Regions from separate parts of the Homo sapiens genome. Here all the other regions are linked to region 2. Evidence: promoter capture Hi-C in 16 types of primary human blood cells and fetal thymus (Javierre and others, 2016). All regions are on one chromosome and are shown on one strand. Each heading gives the region's core, a stretch centred on a gene start or on the middle of the fragment in contact. The rest is flanking DNA. Distances are from core to core; before and after follow the strand shown. Region 1 overlaps CGNL1 (cingulin like 1). Region 2 holds the start of TCF12 (transcription factor 12). Region 3 overlaps CGNL1 (cingulin like 1).

What was found. The method cuts DNA at HindIII sites, captures the fragments that hold promoters and counts their contacts. A CHiCAGO score of 5 or more calls a contact.
Region 1: a fragment that was not itself captured here is called in contact with the fragment with the promoter of TCF12 in region 2 in 2 of 17 cell types (naive B cells and total B cells); the score reaches 6.9 in naive B cells.
Region 3: a fragment that was not itself captured here is called in contact with the fragment with the promoter of TCF12 in region 2 in 2 of 17 cell types (total B cells and naive B cells); the score reaches 5.3 in total B cells.

What each region holds. Positions count from the first base shown.
Region 1 is chr15:57,532,819-57,535,522 of GRCh38, reverse strand. The region is part of intron 14 of CGNL1 (cingulin like 1); the gene reads right to left. Among named protein-coding and RNA genes, the nearest start is that of GCOM1, 58 kb to the left of the region's middle. The HindIII fragment of the contact is 7,611 bases long and covers 1-2,704 here.
Region 2 is chr15:56,917,341-56,920,040 of GRCh38, reverse strand. It overlaps TCF12 (transcription factor 12), which reads right to left and starts at 1,397. Exons shown (of 21, transcript NM_207037.2): 1 at 1,135-1,397; 2 at 53-149. The coding sequence starts at 127. It overlaps TCF12-DT (TCF12 divergent transcript), which reads left to right and starts at 1,542. Exons shown (of 4, transcript NR_015419.2): 1 at 1,542-2,501. RefSeq lists silencers at 358-797, 848-1,137, 1,228-1,277, 1,448-1,577, 2,098-2,237. The HindIII fragment of the contact is 11,533 bases long and covers 1-2,700 here.
Region 3 is chr15:57,513,678-57,516,377 of GRCh38, reverse strand. All of the region lies in intron 8 of CGNL1 (cingulin like 1), which reads right to left. Among named protein-coding and RNA genes, the nearest start is that of GCOM1, 77 kb to the left of the region's middle. The HindIII fragment of the contact is 759 bases long and covers 1,007-1,765 here.

The DNA of each region.
Region 1 (2,704 bases), core at 165-2,664, 620 kb before region 2:
TCCCATTCCCAATCCCCTTGGTTTATTCACGTCTTACCCTTTCTTTAGAGCTGACCCCAGGTCCCCACCCTCTTTCCAGTAATTCTTCCACACTCACTCTTGCAACAATGGTCTTTCCCTCATTAGCTGCTTGAATCTTTTACTTGGCATTTAGTATCCACTGTTTTCTATTGTTAGTTATCAATTTTTTAGGTCTGACCCATCTCCTCAAACAAACTGTAGCAACTCAAGGTCAGGGACCATTTCTGGTCCTCTTGGAGCTTTACTGCAATGCCATGCACACAGCAGGTATTCATCATATTTTGCAGGCACGGGTAGATAGAGCACTGCCTTGGAAATTGAGACCTAAGCCCAGCTCTGCAGTCAATTGCCTGCATGACTGTGGTCAAATCACCAGGTGACTCTGGGCCTCAAATCTCTCATCCATTACAGTGAAGTGGGGAGAGTTGGACTCTGAGGTCCTTGCCAGATCTAACAGTCTATGAGAGGGGTTGGCCATTCACTAATATTGCTGGAAAACCTTTTTTGTGGCTTATTCACTTAAGTCCCATCACTAAGACTAGTGGGAGATGTTTGGGGGAAGCAAAGATTCCGCAAAGGAGCTTGTGAGAATTCAGAGTTTAAGGAGAAAGCTGTTAAGTTTGAACCTTTTAATTTAAAGAGAACAAGATCACCAAACTAAAATATCCCATGCATTCTCTTTTCAGTGCCTAGTAGCAGTTTGCTAGGAAGGCAGGGCCGATGTTATTACTTGGGTTCAAGATAACAAGCACCCTTTCCTGTTTTTAGGAGATGTCCTTGTTAAGGAGATGTCATAAGGTCAGCATTTGATGGGGGAGAGGAAAAGCGGCCTTACGTTTTGAAGTTTCCCTTTTCTGGCTTTGATTTCAGCAGGAAAGCACAGGCACACGGCCCTAGAAGTTAATCTAAGTGGACCAGAAGAGCTCAGAATCAGGGCCCATCTGTCTATACCCAAGGCCCTCCCCAGAGAGCCTTCATTTCAAGAGGCAGGAAATAAGCCTTGGCTCAACCTCAACTTTGAATGAGAATGAGATGCTTTCCAGGGAGGCGGGTATTTGGCCCACCCATTTCTCTGCCCTCCCTCACAAGTCAGGAGGCAGCAAAGGCCAGAAGAGAAGCTCTCAGAACACAATCAGGAGACATCAGCGTTTCTGTTTCATTGGCTTACCAATTCCTACGTCCATGTGAATGTGCTCAATTTCTCCACTTATAACAAACACCAGGCTATACCCTCCCTATCTCAGATGATGCAGTGAGAAGAAAGAAAACAGAAGAGGGAAAGAGAGCTGGTAGGGAAAGAGGTTATAGACATTGGTGGAACTCATCTTTTTAGGCATGTAACTCAGATACAGGGAGAGAATTGGGGGAAAGTAAAGGGTGAGTCAGACGCTTCTGGATGTATGAAACCTTCTTGCAGCATTGCAATGTTAGAATTCAGAAGAGCCTTCAGAGATCACCTGGATCAATGACTTCCTTTTGATAGATTTTAGAGACTGAGCTCAGAGAGGCTGGGACTCTCCCAGAGGTAAATGAGGCTAATGCAGGAGCCAGGACTGGGACTGCCAGCCCACTGCTCTCCCCAGCAGACCAAGTGAGTTCCCTTAACTTCCTCCCTGGACTTACTTCAAGTCCTTGGTTCCCTTAACTTCCCCCCTAAACTGACATCAAGTTCTTGGCTTAGTGGAAATATTTTTAGCCTTGACCACATCATGGACAGCAGTTCTATTCCCCATGATCCAAGTGCTCAGTTGAAAGGAAAAAGAAGTGTCCAGAGCAATTCTGGGACCAGATCTCTGCATGATCAGTTCTGTCAGTGTTGGGCTGTCAGCTGAGCTAAGGGAAGCAGACACGTTCTGGTTCAATGTCTGTGTTTTGTTTCTGATATAAACATGGAACTGAAGGTCTGTTGTAACGGCCTCATTACTGATAGGATGACAGGCTTTCCCACTATTCCTCTTAGCATAAGCCACAAGAAGCGCTGGCAAAACAAATCCATGGTCACATCCTTTGTCATTGTGAATGTTTAGCGGATCCTGACATGTCTGGGGGGAACGTCGCTACTTAGCCAGGCTGGCAGGGGCTCATCACAAAACAGCTTTTATTCCAGTGAGAGAACTTAGAAAACAAAGTCTTCAGTAACAACCCTGGCGGGCAGTAGAGGAGATGTCAAGGTTGAGCTCTCTATCTGGGCCTCTGATTTTCAGGAAGGTCCCTCTCTAAACCTGTGCAGCTCTGGCCTGATAAGCTGTTGCAGCTCCAGATAAATCATAGCCTGGGAACACGCAGACAGAACCCACTCTCCATGAGGAGGGTGGAGGGAACACAGCTGGGTTGCAACTTTCTTCACTCTCAGGAGCAAAGGAGCATGAGTATCCCACTTGTTTGCAAAGAAATCTATCAACAGGGACCTAAAAGAATACGGAAAAGCAGCCAGGGATTCACGTTCTACTTTGAGCAGGGCTGCCTGCTCATAAGGTGCTATCCCCAAGCTCTGGAACTTCCAATTCTTGGTCACCCTGAACCGAGGAAAGGGAAGTCCATGTGAATAAGCAGAAGAGACCAGAGGAAAGTGCCCTTTGGAATAGGGAAGATTTGAAAAAGAAGACAAAAACATAAGGCAGAAAGTGGAAGTTTCCCAAGTGGTTATGAATAACAATCTATTGGCCATAGAGGGAAAAGTGCC
Region 2 (2,700 bases), core at 148-2,647:
AACAAACAAAAACCTCAGCAGAACCCCAAGATGCCATGGAAAGCTCTCATACCGCACTGAAGTCCAGTAGGTCGCTCAGCTCCTTGTCGGTCCCTATAGCGGCCATGCGTTGTTGCTGGGGATTCATCTTCGGCCACTTCTAGCAGGTCCTAGGGCAGAGGAAACGGGCTCAGCGAGAGACCACCGAGGCCCAAAGTGTGTGAGGGAACAGAGAGAGGTACTGGGGAAGATTACGCAAGAGCGCTGGGGGCGCCGGGATGACTTCCAGGACCCCGACTCGCTCCCACCGCGGCGCGAGCAAGGGGCGGGAGGGCTCAGTGCCCGCGCCGGGTCCCGGAATCCACGCGTTCCTCGCCGCGGCCCGAGATCGACGCGGCGGCTCCCGCAACTCGCCGCCTCTCCCCCAAGTTTCCGAGCCAGTCTCTGCCACCTCCTCGGCGCCCCCTGCTCCGCGCCGCCGCCGGGTGCTCCGCGCGCCGGGCCCGGCCGCGGCTGGGGTCTCGAGGAGCGGGGTGAGGGGCAATTCGGCGTCCAGCGAGCGGAGCGGCGGCGAGCGGAGATGCGAAGTGACTCACTCGCTCGGCAACAATAGAACTGACAAGTTGCAGGGAACGCGCCGCTCGCAGGCCCGCGTCTGCGGCCGCCGCCGCCCGGACGTCCCCGGCGGGCCCAGGAGGTCGGAAAGCACCCCCAGCTCATCCAAGGGGCGTTTTTAAACAGAAAACAGAAACCCCGACAACTAGTCTCGCTCTCGGCCGGCGTCCTCCTCCCCAGGCTCGGCCTCCTCCCACTTTTGCTGCCCTGCCCCGGACCTGCCGAACAATGAGCCTGGCTCCGCGGCCGAAGCCGCCCGATCTCCCGCGCGCCCCGGAGCCTGGGCGCCGGCCCGAGTCGGGCACCGAACGGGGCGCACAGGCCGAGCGCGCCGCCAGCGGGCCTGAGCGCCCGCGACTCGAGCCTCCGCCCCCACTCCGCTCCCCAACTTGGAGGGGACCCCGGGTTTCGCGCTGTACAAAGGGGCGCGGAGTTGAGGCGGGGGACGGGGGCGCCCCCACTCCGGCAGGGACGCGGCGGCGCCCCGCAGCCCCCAGCCCCGCCGCGCCGCCCCACTCCCGCTCGCTAGCCCGCAATTACCTGCCGCCCCGTCTCCGCATCCAACCACCCCGATTAAAGTTCACTTTGGCCGGGAGAACGGGCTTGGGCTTCCCCTTGCACCGCCCAGCGGCTCGGTTCACTTTGCCCCGCACGAGCTCTCGGGTCTGGGAGGGGGAGGCGGCTTTCGGGCCTGGCCGCCCCTTCCTCCCGGGGCGGGCTGTCGGTCCCCCCGAATAGAACTTGTGGGTCTCTTCAGGCGGACATTTTTTTCGCTGAGGCGGCCTCACCACCGCGCTCGGCTCGCCTCCGGATCCCTCCGCGCCGGGAAGAGCCGCGGGTTAACCCTTCCCTCCCCGACCCGCTCCGCCGCCTAGGAAGTGGGGCCGGCAGAGGGGGCGGGGAGGAGCTGTCGGGGACTGGGAGGAGCCGCACCGCGGCGGGTGGACAAAGCCCGCGGTCGGGTGAGGCGGGACGGAGTTGGGGCCGGTGGGGAGGGGCATGAGGCGCTCGCAGGCACCTCGAGAAGCAGGCCCCGACCGCTCGCCGACGAAGCCTCGTCCGGGCCTCCTGGGAGCGGGGTGGCAGGTACCGTGGCGCCTCCTCGCGTTGGTCTTGCTGGTTCTCGGCCCCCGAAGCGGAGCGACGGAGACACAGCTGTGGAAGCATCTGGATCCGCTGCCCAGGTCCCCGAGCTTCCCGGAACCCGAGGCCGCAGGACACTGAAGGCTGCCATTCCCGAGTAGGTCACGCTGGACGCCACCCTAAGCTGGGCCCAGAGGCTCCCGTCCAGGAGGGCTGCAGTCGGCGCAGACACCGCGCGTGTGGAGACGGGAGACCCATCCTCCTCGGCCGTTCCGAGAGTAGGCGCGGCCGGTCAGATTCGATGCAGAGCCGAATGCGGGAGAAAGGGCAAAACGTACCTCAAACCAGACAAAGCCTTGTGAGCTTCAGGTTCTCAAATACCCCACTCACCCAGACCCCACATCTCCAGTCAGCCCCTCGCACCCAAATCCCATTCGGAGCAACCGAACTGCACGTGGGACTAGTTCTTGGGAATGGATCAAGCCAGTCTCTTCATCTAACGGAGACAGCCCTGGGTGGCTCTGTCACACAGCCACTGTCTTGTGCACAAGTTCTGAACTTGGCCTCAGAGAAGCCCCAGAGTAGAAAGAAGACAAAATAAGCCCCAGTTCTTCGATTCTGGGCTGAAGTGAGATTTTCTTGAATGGCAGCCATTGTTTTGCCTCTTAGGTAAGTGAGTGCAGTAAAGACCGGTAAGGCCCACGCAGAAGAAACACTGAGGAAAGAAGACACTTCCAAAGTAACAAATGGGAGGAAGCAGCCAACGCCCGAGGACAACATGGCAAGAAGGAGCCTTTGGATTCCGGACTGGGATGGAAAGAGAGGTAGATTCAGCTACCATATGCCATTACTGTAGTTAGTACAGTTGTCTCTATATCCGTGGGATTGGTTCCCAGACTCTGGATTTTCTAAGATGTTCAAGTCTCTTACATAAAAATGGTGTGTTTCCCCATATACTTTAAATCATATCTAGATTACTTATAAAACCTAATACAATGCAAATGCTATGTGAATAGTTGTTAA
Region 3 (2,700 bases), core at 137-2,636, 600 kb before region 2:
GAAGGCGGGTGCTATTCTTATCGCCATCTTAAATATGAGGAAACTGACACTTGGATAGTTTAAGTAACTTGTCCAAGATCACTTAGGAGGAACTGCATTCGGGCAGGCTGAATCCAGAACCTGTCCTCATAACCCTCGCTTTCTGACATGTCCACTTCCCTGCCCCATTTGCATGGGCAGGGTCTCTTTTTCTTTCTTTTTTTTTTTTTTTTTTTTTTTGAGACAGAGTCTCGCTCTGTCCCCCAGGCTGGAGTGCAGTGGCGCGATGTCGGCTCACTGCAAGCTCCGCCTCCTGGGTTCACACCATTCTCCTGCTTCAGCCTCCCGAGTAGCTGGGACTACAGGCGCCCGCCACCACGCCTGGCTAATTTTTTTATATTTTTAGTAGAGACGGGGTTTCACCATGTTAGCCAGGATGGTCTCGATCTCCTGAGCTCATCATCTGTCTGCCTCGGCCTCCCAAAGTGCTGGGATTACAGGTGTGAGCCACCACACCCGGCCCAGGGTCTTTAATAGAAGCTCTTGAGGAAGGGCAGCTTCGGAGTACAGATTTTTTTCATGTCCAATATAAAACAGAAATTTAAATTAGCTTAAATTAGGATACAGTTCACAGTGTAAGCTCTAGGTATGCTGCACACAATCCACAACAGAAAGGAATGACAATCTCAGGGTGGTTATTGTTGATTCCAGAGGTCACAGGGGCTTTGTATTCTTCGGTTTAGCAATTTGAAGTGATGGGAAATGGTCCTGCCCCACATTCCACCTCTCCAGGCAGATCTCTTACCTGTCCTCCATTTCTCCACTACTACAAAGATGCCAATATCAGCAAATCTCATGCCTACAACACAATGCTACAGACGCCTGCGATAAAAGAAAGGCCCAGGGAGGACAAGGTTAGGCTTTTAAAGGCTGTATCACCGACCATGTGGGAGAAGTATCTGCTAGAACTGCTCACTTATATAGCCTGTTGGAAAGATCTTTACTTCTCTTAACAGTACAGTAAGCTTATTATCCTGAACCTAACCAGTTAGAGAATTTCAGGAACCAGAGCATCCTTTCATGGCCCAAAGGTTTAATTCTATACAACAGAGAAAGCCCATCGGAGCCAAGCAACTGAGTTAGAATGAAGTTAGCTGGCGTTGCTAGGAGAAAACTAAGGTGTCAGACAGCTGAGACTTCTCAGGTCTATCAGGATATCGTCTCCTAATGAAACCAGCAAGAGGACATGTCACAAAAATATACAGAGGAGAAATAAAGTGTGGTTGAAAACTTGAGGAAGGATCTAAAGAATCTAGTAACTGGTCAGACCAGGGAAAGAAAAAGTCTAGATTGCCCACTTCTGCCCTAACTCTCCTATTAACATGTGAGACAAAGTTACAGTTATCAAGACAGGGCAGTACTGGCATGAGGGAAGGCATATAAATCAATGAAACAGAATTGGGAGTTCAGACATAAACCCCTACATGTATAGCCAACTGCTTTTCAACAAGGGTGCCAAGACAATTCAATGGGGGAAAGAATAGCCTTCAACAAATGGTGCCACTACAACTGGATATCCACATGAAAAAGAAATGAAGTTAGACATCTTCCTCATACCATACACAAAAGTTAACTCAAAATGGATCATAGGCCCAAATGTAGGATCTAAAACTATAAAACTCTTAAAACACAGAAACAAGTATTTGTGACCTTGGGTTAGGCAAAGGCTACTTAGCTACAACACCAAAAGTACAAGTGACAAAAGAACGAACAGATAAATTAAGCTTCTTCAAAATTTAAAACTTTTGTGCTGCAAATGATGCCACCAAGAAAGTCAAAAGACAACGACCAGAATGAAAGGAAATAAAAGTCATATATCTAATGAAGGACTCATATCCAGAATATATAAATGATTCTTTAACTCAGTAACAAAAAGACTTAAAAATGGGGCCAGGTGCGGTGGGTTACGTCATAGTCTCTGCACTTTAAGAGGCCCAGGCAGGCGGATCACTTGTGGTCAGAAGTTCAAGACCAGCCTGGCCAACATGATAAAACCCCATCTCTACTAAAAATACAAAAATCAGCCAGGTGTGGTGGTGCACACCTGTAATCCCAGCTAATTGGGATGCTGAGGCGAGAGAATTGTTTGAACTCGGGAGGCAGAGATTGCAGTGAGCCGAGATGGGACCACTGCACTCCAACTTGGGTGACAGAGCAAGACTCCATCTCAAAAAATAAATAAATAAACAATGGGGAAAGGATCCGAACAGTATATAAAATCCAACATGCATATGAAAACATATTCAACATCATTAGTCATTAGGGAAATGCAAATTAAAACCATAATGAGATACCACTCCACATCCACTAGGATAGCTATAATAAAAAAGAAAGATAATAACAAGTATTGGGGAGAGTTTAGAGGAATTAGACCACTTATACATTGCTGGTAGGAATGTAAAATGGTGCAGCTACTTTGGAAAACAGTTTGCCAGTTCCTCAAAATGTTACACAGAGTTACGGTAGGACCTAGCAATTTCACTCCTTGCTATATAGCTAAGAGAAATAAAAACAAGGGACCGGGCACAGTGACTCAAGCCTGTAATCCCAGCACTTTGGGAGGCCGAGGCGGGCAGATCACCTGAGGTCAGGAGTTTGAGACCAGCCTGGCCAACATGGTGAAACCGCATCTTTACTAAAAATACAAAAAATTAGCCAGGC